2 separate regions of the Homo sapiens genome follow, and region 1 is linked to region 2. Evidence: promoter capture Hi-C in 16 types of primary human blood cells and fetal thymus (Javierre and others, 2016). All regions are on one chromosome and are shown on one strand. Each heading gives the region's core, a stretch centred on a gene start or on the middle of the fragment in contact. The rest is flanking DNA. Distances are from core to core; before and after follow the strand shown. Region 1 holds the start of FOXM1 (forkhead box M1). Region 2 holds the start of DCP1B (decapping mRNA 1B).

The links. Contacts are between HindIII fragments. The CHiCAGO score rates a contact against its expected background, and 5 or more counts as called.
Region 1: the fragment with the promoter of FOXM1 here is called in contact with a fragment that was not itself captured in region 2 in 3 of 17 cell types (total CD8 T cells, fetal thymus and naive CD8 T cells); the score reaches 5.8 in total CD8 T cells.

What each region holds. Positions count from the first base shown.
Region 1 is chr12:2,874,431-2,879,484 of GRCh38, reverse strand. FOXM1 (forkhead box M1) reads left to right here and starts at 2,311. Exons shown (of 9, transcript NM_021953.4): 1 at 2,311-2,565; 2 at 4,960-5,054. The coding sequence starts at 5,007. RHNO1 (RAD9-HUS1-RAD1 interacting nuclear orphan 1) reads right to left here and starts at 2,262. Exons shown (of 3, transcript NM_001252499.3): 1 at 2,203-2,262. RefSeq lists an enhancer at 1-422 and silencers at 2,006-2,445, 2,486-2,555. The HindIII fragment of the contact is 3,757 bases long and covers 944-4,700 here.
Region 2 is chr12:2,004,294-2,009,299 of GRCh38, reverse strand. DCP1B (decapping mRNA 1B) reads left to right here and starts at 4,843. Exons shown (of 9, transcript NM_152640.5): 1 at 4,843-5,006. The coding sequence starts at 4,869. It also overlaps a transcript of CACNA1C not described here. RefSeq lists an enhancer at 4,568-4,797. The HindIII fragment of the contact is 629 bases long and covers 3,442-4,070 here.

The DNA of each region.
Region 1 (5,054 bases), core at 1,062-3,561, 870 kb before region 2:
TGCGTGCACCTGTAGTCCCAGCTACTCAGGAGGCTGAGGTGGGCAGATCACTTGAGCCCAGGAGGTGGAGGCTGCAGTGAGCCGAGATCGTGCCACTGAACTCCAGCCTGAGTGACAGAGCCAGAACCTTGTTTCAAAAAAAGAAAAGAAAAAAAAATTCAACAAGTTTAAAACTGAACTTGGCCGCGCACAGTGGCTCATGCCTGTAATGCCAACACTGTGAAAGGTGAAGGTGGGAGGATCACTTGAACCGAATAGTTCAAGATCAATCTGGGCAACAGAGTGAGACCCTGTCTCTACAAAAGATACAAAAATTAGATGGGTGTAGTGGCATGTGCCTGTAGGGGGTCCCAGCCATTCAGGAGGCTGAGGTGGGAGGATCACCTGAGCCCAGGAGGTTGAGGTTGTAGTGAGCCAAGGTCATGCCACTGGACTTCAGCCTGGGGGACAGAGCAAGACCCTGTCTCTAAAAAATAAAAAGATAAATAAAAATAAATATATAATTAAAAAAAAAACTCATTCTGAGCATTGCTTTGTAGTAAAAAAACAAAAACTGAATTCACGATCATTCCCCTGACAACCCCCCGCCCGTCCCTTGGCCAAAGTGATTATCTTCCAGGGCCCTTGGTCAGGGAATAGTGTCATTATTCCTTCAGTTATGCAGCTGAAAATCTTGACACTTCTACCTCCCATCCAACCCACCATCAAGCCCTGTCAACTTTACCTCTTAAACATGTTTTCTTAATGCCCCTTTTTTACTCTCTCTGTCTCCTTCTTTCTCTTCCTCTCTCTCTCTCCCTGCCACCCTTTTTCAAGCTCCAGCAGTTCTTGCCTGGAGTATTGCAACATCCAACTGTTCTGCCCTAATCCACTCTAGCAATCCCCGCTATAGAGGGACCTTTTAAAATGCAAATCTGACCTGGATTCACTTCTGCTTAAAGCTTATGACTGGTTTCCTTTAATTCTTGGATAAGCACAAAACTTCTCGGTATGGCTAAGGCTCTGCTTCCTCCGGCTCCAGCTTCAACTCACACCACACTCCATTCAGGTCGATTAGCTCAAACCCCTCAGATATTTCTCAGCCTTTGTACTCACTGTGCTTCCTCCTGCCATCCAGCCTTTGCACGCCTGATTCCCTCTGCTTAGAGGAGTTCCCTCCTTTCTTTGTAAAAGGCATCAGATCTCACACCAAGCTCTCATTACAAAAGCCTTTCCTGTCCTACCTCTCAAGATCTCGTTATTGTAAATACTCAAAGTATCATTAACCTCTAATGTTTCAATTTACAGCAATAATTCAACATTTGTTTGTTTTGGAGACGGTGTCTCCCTCTGTCGCCCAGGCTGGAGTGCAGTGGTGTGATCATGGCTTACCATAGCCTCCACCTCTCGGCCTCAGGTGATCCTTCCACCTCAGCCTCCAGAGTAGCTGGGACTACAGGCACGCACCACCACGCCCGGCTAATTTTTAGTAGAGAAGCGGTTTCGCTATGTTGCCAGGCTGGTCTCGAACTCGTGACCTCAAGTGATCCACCCGCCTCGGCCTCCTAAAGTGCTGGGATTACAGGCGTGAGCCACTATGCCCAGCCCACATTTGTTTATTTGATTAAAATGTCTGTGCCCCTCTTCCAGGATTGGGCTGTGAGCCCAGGGGAAGGAAAGAACCTTGTCTGCCATTGTATCTTCAGGGCCTAGCGGTGCCTGGCGCACAGCAGTTGCTCAACTAGACTGGTTGACTAAGTCAATAAATAAAGCACTACGGTCTATTATATCCGAAGGCTTGGCTTCGGGAGGGGCAAAAGACAGGTTTCGCGCTGAGGTAGGGTTCATGGTGCCGACATTTTTTTTCAAGATGGAAGAAAGCGGAGATAATACGCAGCCCTCAAAGGAACTTAGTCTAATCGGGGGGAGCAGACGATCGTTCACTGTGGGAAAATGGGGTACGATTTCCCCCAGTGAGGAAATCAACTAAAGCCGAGCTTTGAAAAGGGGAGCAGAGGAGCCTGAGGGGAAGCGGGGGCGTGTCGCCTGGCGTGACCAGCGCGGCAGGAAAAGCGGGCCCAGGGACCCGGGCCTGTCACGCCGCTTCCGCGCGTCCCCAAACTCTCCCTCGGCTCGCCCACCCACGCGGCGGGGACCCCTCCGGCCCCTCCCCGGCCCCACGGCCACTTCTTCCCCCACAAGCCGGCCTGCGGTCCGCCTTACCAGCCCGGGCCGGACGGGGCCGCAGCTCCTGGCAGACCGCACAGCCTTCGAGCCCGGAATGCCGAGACAAGGCCGGCGCCGATTGGCGACGTTCCGTCACGTGACCTTAACGCTCCGCCGGCGCCAATTTCAAACAGCGGAACAAACTGAAAGCTCCGGTGCCAGACCCCACCCCCGGCCCCGGCCCGGGACCCCCTCCCCTCCCGGGATCCCCCGGGGTTCCCACCCCGCCCGCACCGCCGGGGACCCGGCCGGTCCGGCGCGAGCCCCCGTCCGGGGCCCTGGCTCGGCCCCCAGGTTGGAGGAGCCCGGAGCCCGCCTTCGGAGCTACGGCCTAACGGCGGCGGCGACTGCAGTCTGGAGGTGAGCGGGATGCAGCAATGGAGTCCCAGGCCTGGCCTGGGCACAGGCGGGGAGCAAGGCCTCCGGGCGCGGAGGTCAGGGCGTCTAGCAGCAGGGCACGGGCCACGAGTGGAGATTTGGGTCACACGGGAAGAATCTGAGCCAGGGTGCAAGTTTTTTCTGCGTCCACCTCCTGGCCGTGGCCTTCTCACTGCTTAAAGCGCCCCTTGGCCTTCCCTGGAAGTCTGACCTCCGCACCCTGCCCGCGGCCTCGGGAGGGCTGGGGTGGCCTACCTTCTTAGGCCGACTGTGGCTGAGATGAAGACTGAGATTGTACTACATTGAGTCAAAGACCAACCTGCATACACACTCCCCTGCTCCCAGGCTGTCTCACCACTAGGCAACACCGCCTCCATCTTACTTACCCTTTTGCAGGGCCCTTTTCCTGGTTCTTGAGAATGTAGCAAGATTTCCCCGCTCAGGATGGGGATGGGTCGGAGGAGCCACTCTGGAAGTTTCCCGGGCAAGAAAGTGTTGGCAATAATAATAACGGGCTGGTCAGGAAGTAGAAGAGAAAATTAAGACTTAGATATCCTGTGGAAAAAGAGGAATAATATCTACTGATTGATGCGGGGAGAGAGGGAAGCCTGGAAAGATCGGAGGTGAAAGTAAAACTGAGATTTGAAGGTAGAGGTGTGGAGGGCCTGTGAACTCTATGCAGATGACAAATGTCAAAAAAGTGCAGTTGCTTTTCAGGGAGAGAATAAGTGTCCTAAAAAAGAGACAGCCAATTCCTCTGTCTTCCAAAGTTCCGTGAAATAGAATTACACAATTTTGCTTAATGGTAGAATATTCCATGTATCTATTAAAATCAACAAAAGGCCGGGCGCAGTGGCTCACGCCTGTAATCCCAGCACTTTGGGAGGCCGAGGCGGGTGGATCACCTGAGGAGTTCAAGACCAGCCTGGCAAACATGGTGAAACCCTGTTTCTACTAAAAAAAAAAAAAAAAAATTAGCTGGGCATGGTGGTGCATGCCTGTAATTGCAGCTACTCGGGAGGCTGAGGCAGGAGAATCGCTTGAACCCGGGAGGCCGAGGTTGCAGTGAGCTGAGATTGCGCCATTGCACTCCAGCCTGGGTGACAAGAGCGAAGCTCCGTCTCAAAAAAAAAAAAAAAATTAAAAAAAATCAACAAAAGACTTAAAAAAAAAAGACTACACTGTTAGCATTTCAGAACCACCTTAGTGTAATGATGATAGCTCATTGTGGTACTAAGAAGACAGGGGTTATAGTCTTATTTCTGGAAAAGAAATTAATAAAGTGGCATGCTTAGTTAAAATATATATAACCACATGCAAGTACTAAAATGCCACTGTATAAATACAATACAAATTGTAAAAGAAAACATGCTTTTTAAATTAGAGCAAGTATAATAGCCTGTGAAATAAATGTCACCCTCTAGAGTTGTTCAGTGCACAAGCTGCACAACTTTACATGGGCCTTCAGTAGAGGTTTCCATTTTATGTGAGGTTTTGTAAACTGGGAGATGATTTTTCCAGTAGTGTGGCAATAGTACAATCTGCCTTTCTTCCCTGATTCTGTGTGCACTGGTCCTATTTACAAAGTAATATAAAAATCAAAAGGCTTGGCCAGACGCGGTGGCTCACGCCTGTAATCCCAGCACTTTGGGAGGCCGAGGCGGGCAGATGACCTGAGGTCAGGAGTTTGAGACCAGCCTGAGCAACATGGTGAAACCCTGTCTCTACTAAAAATACAAAAACTAGCCGGGCGTGGTGGTGGGCACCTGTAATCCCAGCTACTCAGGAGGCTGAGACGTGGGACTCGCTTAAACCCAGGAGGCAGAGGTTGCAGTGAACTGAGATCGTGCCACTGCACTCCAGCCTGGGTGACAAAGTGAGACTCTGTCTCAAAAAAAAAAAAAAAAAAAAAATTAAAATCCTTTGTCTTGAATGGATTATGGGATCAGAGTTTCATCAGGACTCCTAATTACCATATGCTTTCCTATTCTAGCATCTTCCATTTCTGTCCATACAGTCATTGCAAGTGATCTATTTATATTATAGTAGGCAATTATAGAGATTTCCACATATTTGTAGCTATCCCATCCATTTCTGTAGCCAAATATTCTGAAGCTTCAAGGAGATCTTTGTCTTATCTCCAACCCAGTCCCATTTTTGCCCTTTGAATTGCTTCTGTCTGCTGTAATTTTAGCCTTCTTTTGTCAGTAAAGCTTATCTCCTTATTATCTGAGGTCTTTACAAAAGTCCATGGAATGTTTACCTGGGCCTTTAGGCTCATGTTCCTGGTCATATAAAGAGGAGCACCTTTCTCTAAAAGGACCTCTTCTCAGCCTAAACAATCTCTAACATCTTGCCACTATTTGCATTTTCCAGGGTCCACACTTGTGATTCTCAATGGAGAGTGAAAACGCAGATTCATAATGAAAACTAGCCCCCGTCGGCCACTGATTCTCAAAAGACGGAGGCTG
Region 2 (5,006 bases), core at 2,507-5,006:
GTCTTACTCAGTCATTGCCATGGTATAAAAATTCCAGACCCAAACATTATTTTTTTATCATTCTACAAACTTGTTTTAAATTGCAGTATCCAACTTTGTAAAACCAAGTGTGAGCATATGTTTAATCTCATAATGACAATTATAATATAATCATGAAACTCGAAGTCACCAATATTTGTCCAAGGTATCATCATGAGGCTTATGGAAACACAGTGGAAGTACGCCAGCACTCTGGGCGCCAACAGAAATGGAAGTTACACGGATTAAAAAAGAATTTGCCTATTCGAAATGGTCTTTTACTAATATCGAGCCTGCAACTTAGTATATTTGGTTAAGTGATGATGACCTGGTTTTACAAACACAGATTATTCAAATAGAAAGAAGGCAGAAGGCTGGCGTCATCCTAGAAGGTCAGAGCTTTAGGCCTTTGTGGGGAGGAAAAAAGAATAAAAAATAAATAAATCTCTGTGGGCCAGGGAGATGAACAATATGGCAATGCTGAAGTCATTGCAACATTATTTATCTTTTTTCTCTGAGTATGATTTCTAATCTTCAAGAGTTTTTTGTTTGAAAGTTAAAAAACCAAAAACCTTTCCATGTTTTTCTATCTCCCTTAGAATATAAAATCTGAGAGAACAGGACTTGCTATTGCACGTTTTTTTATCCCAACTTGGATTTCATTATTTTATAAATCATGAGCTCTTTAAAAAATGCTGACATTTAATGAGTAAATTCAACTAACTCAGGGTTTAGTTCAAAAGAATAAGCATTTATTGAATCTCTATTATGTACAAGGCATTGGACCAAGTGCTAGGGAGACTACGTGGTGATAAGCACATAAAAAATAACATCTCCATCCTGAGCAACGTAGTGAGACCCCATCACTACAAAACATAAAAAGTAACATCTCCATCCTGAGCAACATAGTGAGACCCCATCACTACAAAACATGAAAAATAACATCTCCATCCTGAGCAACGTAGTGAGACCCCATCACTACAAAATATAAAAAACATTGGCCGGGCATGGTGGCACCAGCCTGTGGTCCCAGCTACCTGGGAGGCTGGGGTGGGAGGAGTGCTTGAACCCAGGAGGTCAAGTCTGCAGTGAGCTGTGATTGTGCCACTGCACTCCAGCCTGAGCGACAGAGAAAGACCCTGTCTCAAAAAATAAATAAATAAATAAATAAATAAGTAAAACTTTATGAAACATACTATTTCCTCCTTTTTGCTTATCTGTCAAGAAACTCAAAGCCCAATTTCTTGTTCAATTGCAATAATGTTTTCAGGCTAGATTTTCTATAACAATTCTCTTTTATTACAATGACTGTTTTTTTTTAGAATTGGAAAAAAATGTATATGTAACGTAGTAAATAAATAAGTCTAAGTCAGGATAAAGTGAGCTAAGTGCCACAAGAAAAATCGCAACAGAATGCAATGAGGATTCATAGGCTGAAAGGATTGTATGGGAGAAGACAGGAGGTGAGTTTTCCAGGAAAAGGTCATTCCAAGCTAAGAAGACAGATGGGCAAAGGTACAGAGATAGGAATGTGTAAGATACTTGGGAGAAAAGAGTTCAGATACAAGGAGGTTAGAACAGAAGATGGGTTGTTTCATTAACTCTAAACACACAAAAAATTAACTCTTCTCTACTAAGGGTCATATTAGCATGTTGTTCACATATGTGAAATTTTCCCCGTAAGCAAAGTAAGGGTATCTTCATCTTACTCATCAGTGAGATCAAAGACTGGAGAAGACATGACCATGTAATTTCAGCACAGACACAAGAAGCAATAATAAATCATGAAGAATTAATGAATTTCATCAAGTGAGCACTCCATAAATGCTTTGCAATTGTAGTCATACAGATCACTAAGACTTGTATACACTTTTGTTTTATGAACATTTAAGCTTTTACAATGGCCCCTATATTGCCTGTCTTCTCTAATGAGCTCAAAGCAATTCGTTCTTTGGAGGCCATGATCTATTCTTTACACTTTAAAGATGGAAAGACTGAAAAATTATGAGGACAATGATCTGTGTAAGGATCATGGAACTTAACAGACAAAAGAAAAACAATGCCTCATTATATGTACGAGGGAAATGCAAAGTAGAATCTGTGGGTTCATGCTGAAAAATCAAAATTAGAACAGCTAATCAAGTGAGAGAGTGTGACTAGTTCAAGAATTAATCACAAAATTCTCCATTGCCCATATTACAGATTAAACTTGTTTTTAGAAGCACATATGTGATTAAGAGCAAAGAGGTCAGTAACACTGGAAAAAGGTAGTGAACTAACATGGAAAGTTGTCTAGTCAGCTTTGTGTGGTTGCTCAGTTGCTGCAGCCCTATGTTTTTCAAACTACAGGTCACAATCCATTAGTTGGTCATGAAACCAATTTACAAAGTCACAAATAGCATTTTAAAAAATGTCTGTATACTTAGTATTGAAACATTTATTCTAGTTAATATCAGGTATAAATATATAAACATATGTTCTCAGTCAGACTGCAAATGACCCCAGCCTCAGTCAAAAAAAAGTTGTTTGAAAGCCATTGCTGTATTCTTCCCCACTGGGAAGTTAGGCTTGGGAGTCAATAGGACTGAGACTCCAAAATGCAGCTTAACCAAGAATTTCAGTACAATTGAAATTGTGACTGCAAAGATTATATTGCAACATATTATTATGAGAGGGTATGTGTGCCGTATCTATGATATTTCTATATCAAATAGGTAAGAATTTATGAATGTGAGTAGTAATGTCTGCACAGTTGTTCTAATATTTAATGCTAGATAAATGGTTTAGATCAACCATTCTCAACTTTTTAGTCTCAAGACTCCTTTACACTCTTAAAAATTATTTTTTTAATTACTTTTTATTTATTTTATTTTTGAGATGGAGTCTCGCTCTATCACCCAGGCTGGAGTGCAGTGGCAGGATCTCGGCTCACTGCAACCTCTGCCTCCCGGGTTCAAGCGATTCTCCTGCCTCAGCCTCCCGAGTATCCGGGATTACAGGTACCTGCCACCACTCCTGGCTAATTTTTGTATTTTTAGTAGAGACGGGGTTTCACCATGTTGGCCAGGCTGGTCTTGAACTACTGACCTTGTGATCCGCCCGCCTCAGCCTCCCAAAGTGCTGGGATTACAGGCAGGAGCCACCGCACCTGGCCCACTCTTAAAAATTATTAAGGACTCCCTCAGAGAACTTTTGTTTATGTGAGTTATACCCACCTATATTTACCATATTGGAAATTAAAAATAACTTTAAAGACCCCGGGCTATGTGTGTTTTGTTTGGAGTATATGAAGAAACTCTGGCCTCATATGTAGATAATGTAGTTGGAAAAGAGATGGATATTTTAATAGAGTTTTTCAGACAATTGTGGATATTCTTCTTGGATAATATACCAAAACTTGACAAGCTGGAGTTTCTCAAAGCTTAGCTGCAATGTACTATCTGAAATCCTATTAACTTTTCATACTGTTACATTAAAAATCCATTAGTCCACCTTGTCCTTGAATGGATCTTTTGCCTGTGCATGATTATGTAGCATGAGACATTGGTCTTTTGGAAAATACTGGACCACTGAGTTAAGCAGATCTTTGAGATATTGACACTTTCCATTATACAAGATTTGTTAAAATTGCGCTCATTAATATCATCACTGATCTCATCAGAAAAAAAAACATTAAGTACTGAGATGTCAAGCTCATGGCAGTAGATACACATTTTCTAAACTTTTAATTCTGGCTTGAAGGCTTAAAAATTATCATTGGCAGCAGTAATTGTCCCTTGTTTTCCTGAAAGTGACAGGCACACTTTATTTATTTTCAGAAAAATGTCTGTCAAGTACCTGTTTGAATAATCATAGTTTGCCCATCTTTCTTTCAAGTAAAAATGTTTTATGAAAATAAAAATAAAAACATGAATTCGGCCTACAACTCAAGCACAGAAGTATTTTCCTAGAGACAAATATGACACACTTCATTTTGCAGCAGACGTGCTTTATGCCTATTTCCTATTTTTTCATGCAGAATGTTAAAAAGAATTGTACCCAAGGATTAAGCTTCAATGAAATTAATAATTCTTACTGCTTATCAAGAACACCATCAGGTGACACTGGCTCTCTACCTTCTTCTTTTTTTTTTTTTCTTTTGTAACTGAGAGTGCAGATTAGTGACGCGTACTTTGACTAGCAATACAGTTTGGTGCCCCTGCCTTGATTGGGTTAAACCACCGGCGCTTTTAACCACCATTGTCTGCAAAACGTCACCACAGTGAACAAGTCAAATAAGTAAGTCTCAGCATTGTCATAAAAGGTTTTGTTTTTTTTTTGACCTTGCAGATCCCCTGAAAGGGTCTCAGAAACTCCCAAAGGGTTCCAGGACCACACCACACTTTGAGAACCACTGGGTGTTAGCGCATTCAGAAATCAATTCAGTTCTCTTTCTCTTCAGAGTTCTTGATGCTCGAGGCTTATTTATTGTGATAGATTTGATCACTGAAGCGCCAAAGAAAAGATATGCCAAGGGGTCGAACACATCCAAGAAGGAAATCCTACCGCACACACAGCTCAAAGGCTCGAGCGCGTAGAAAAACAGCTCTTGGAGAAAGAAACGGGATGCAGAGGGCAGGCCTGGGCTTGTCGTTGCCAGTGGCAACGATCCTCAGTGGGCGGGGCGCGGCCATCGATTAGTGAGGCCTTGCGTCTGTCGGCGGGCAGGAGGGTGGGGGTGACTGGAGCCGGAAGGCCTCCCGGGCCGTGTGGTCGCCGTGGGTTCTCGGTTGCGAGGCAGCTCGCTCGTTCTGCGATCTATTGAGAGTGGCTTCCAAGAGCCCCGTGCCTATGTCTGGGAGGGAGGGAAGATGGCAGCCGTGGCGGCAGGCGGCCTGGTGGGAAAGGGGCGCGACATCAGCCTAGCGGCCCTGCAGCGCCACGACCCCTATATCAACCGCATCGTGGACGTGGCCAGCCAGGTGGCTCTGTACACCTTCGGCCATCGG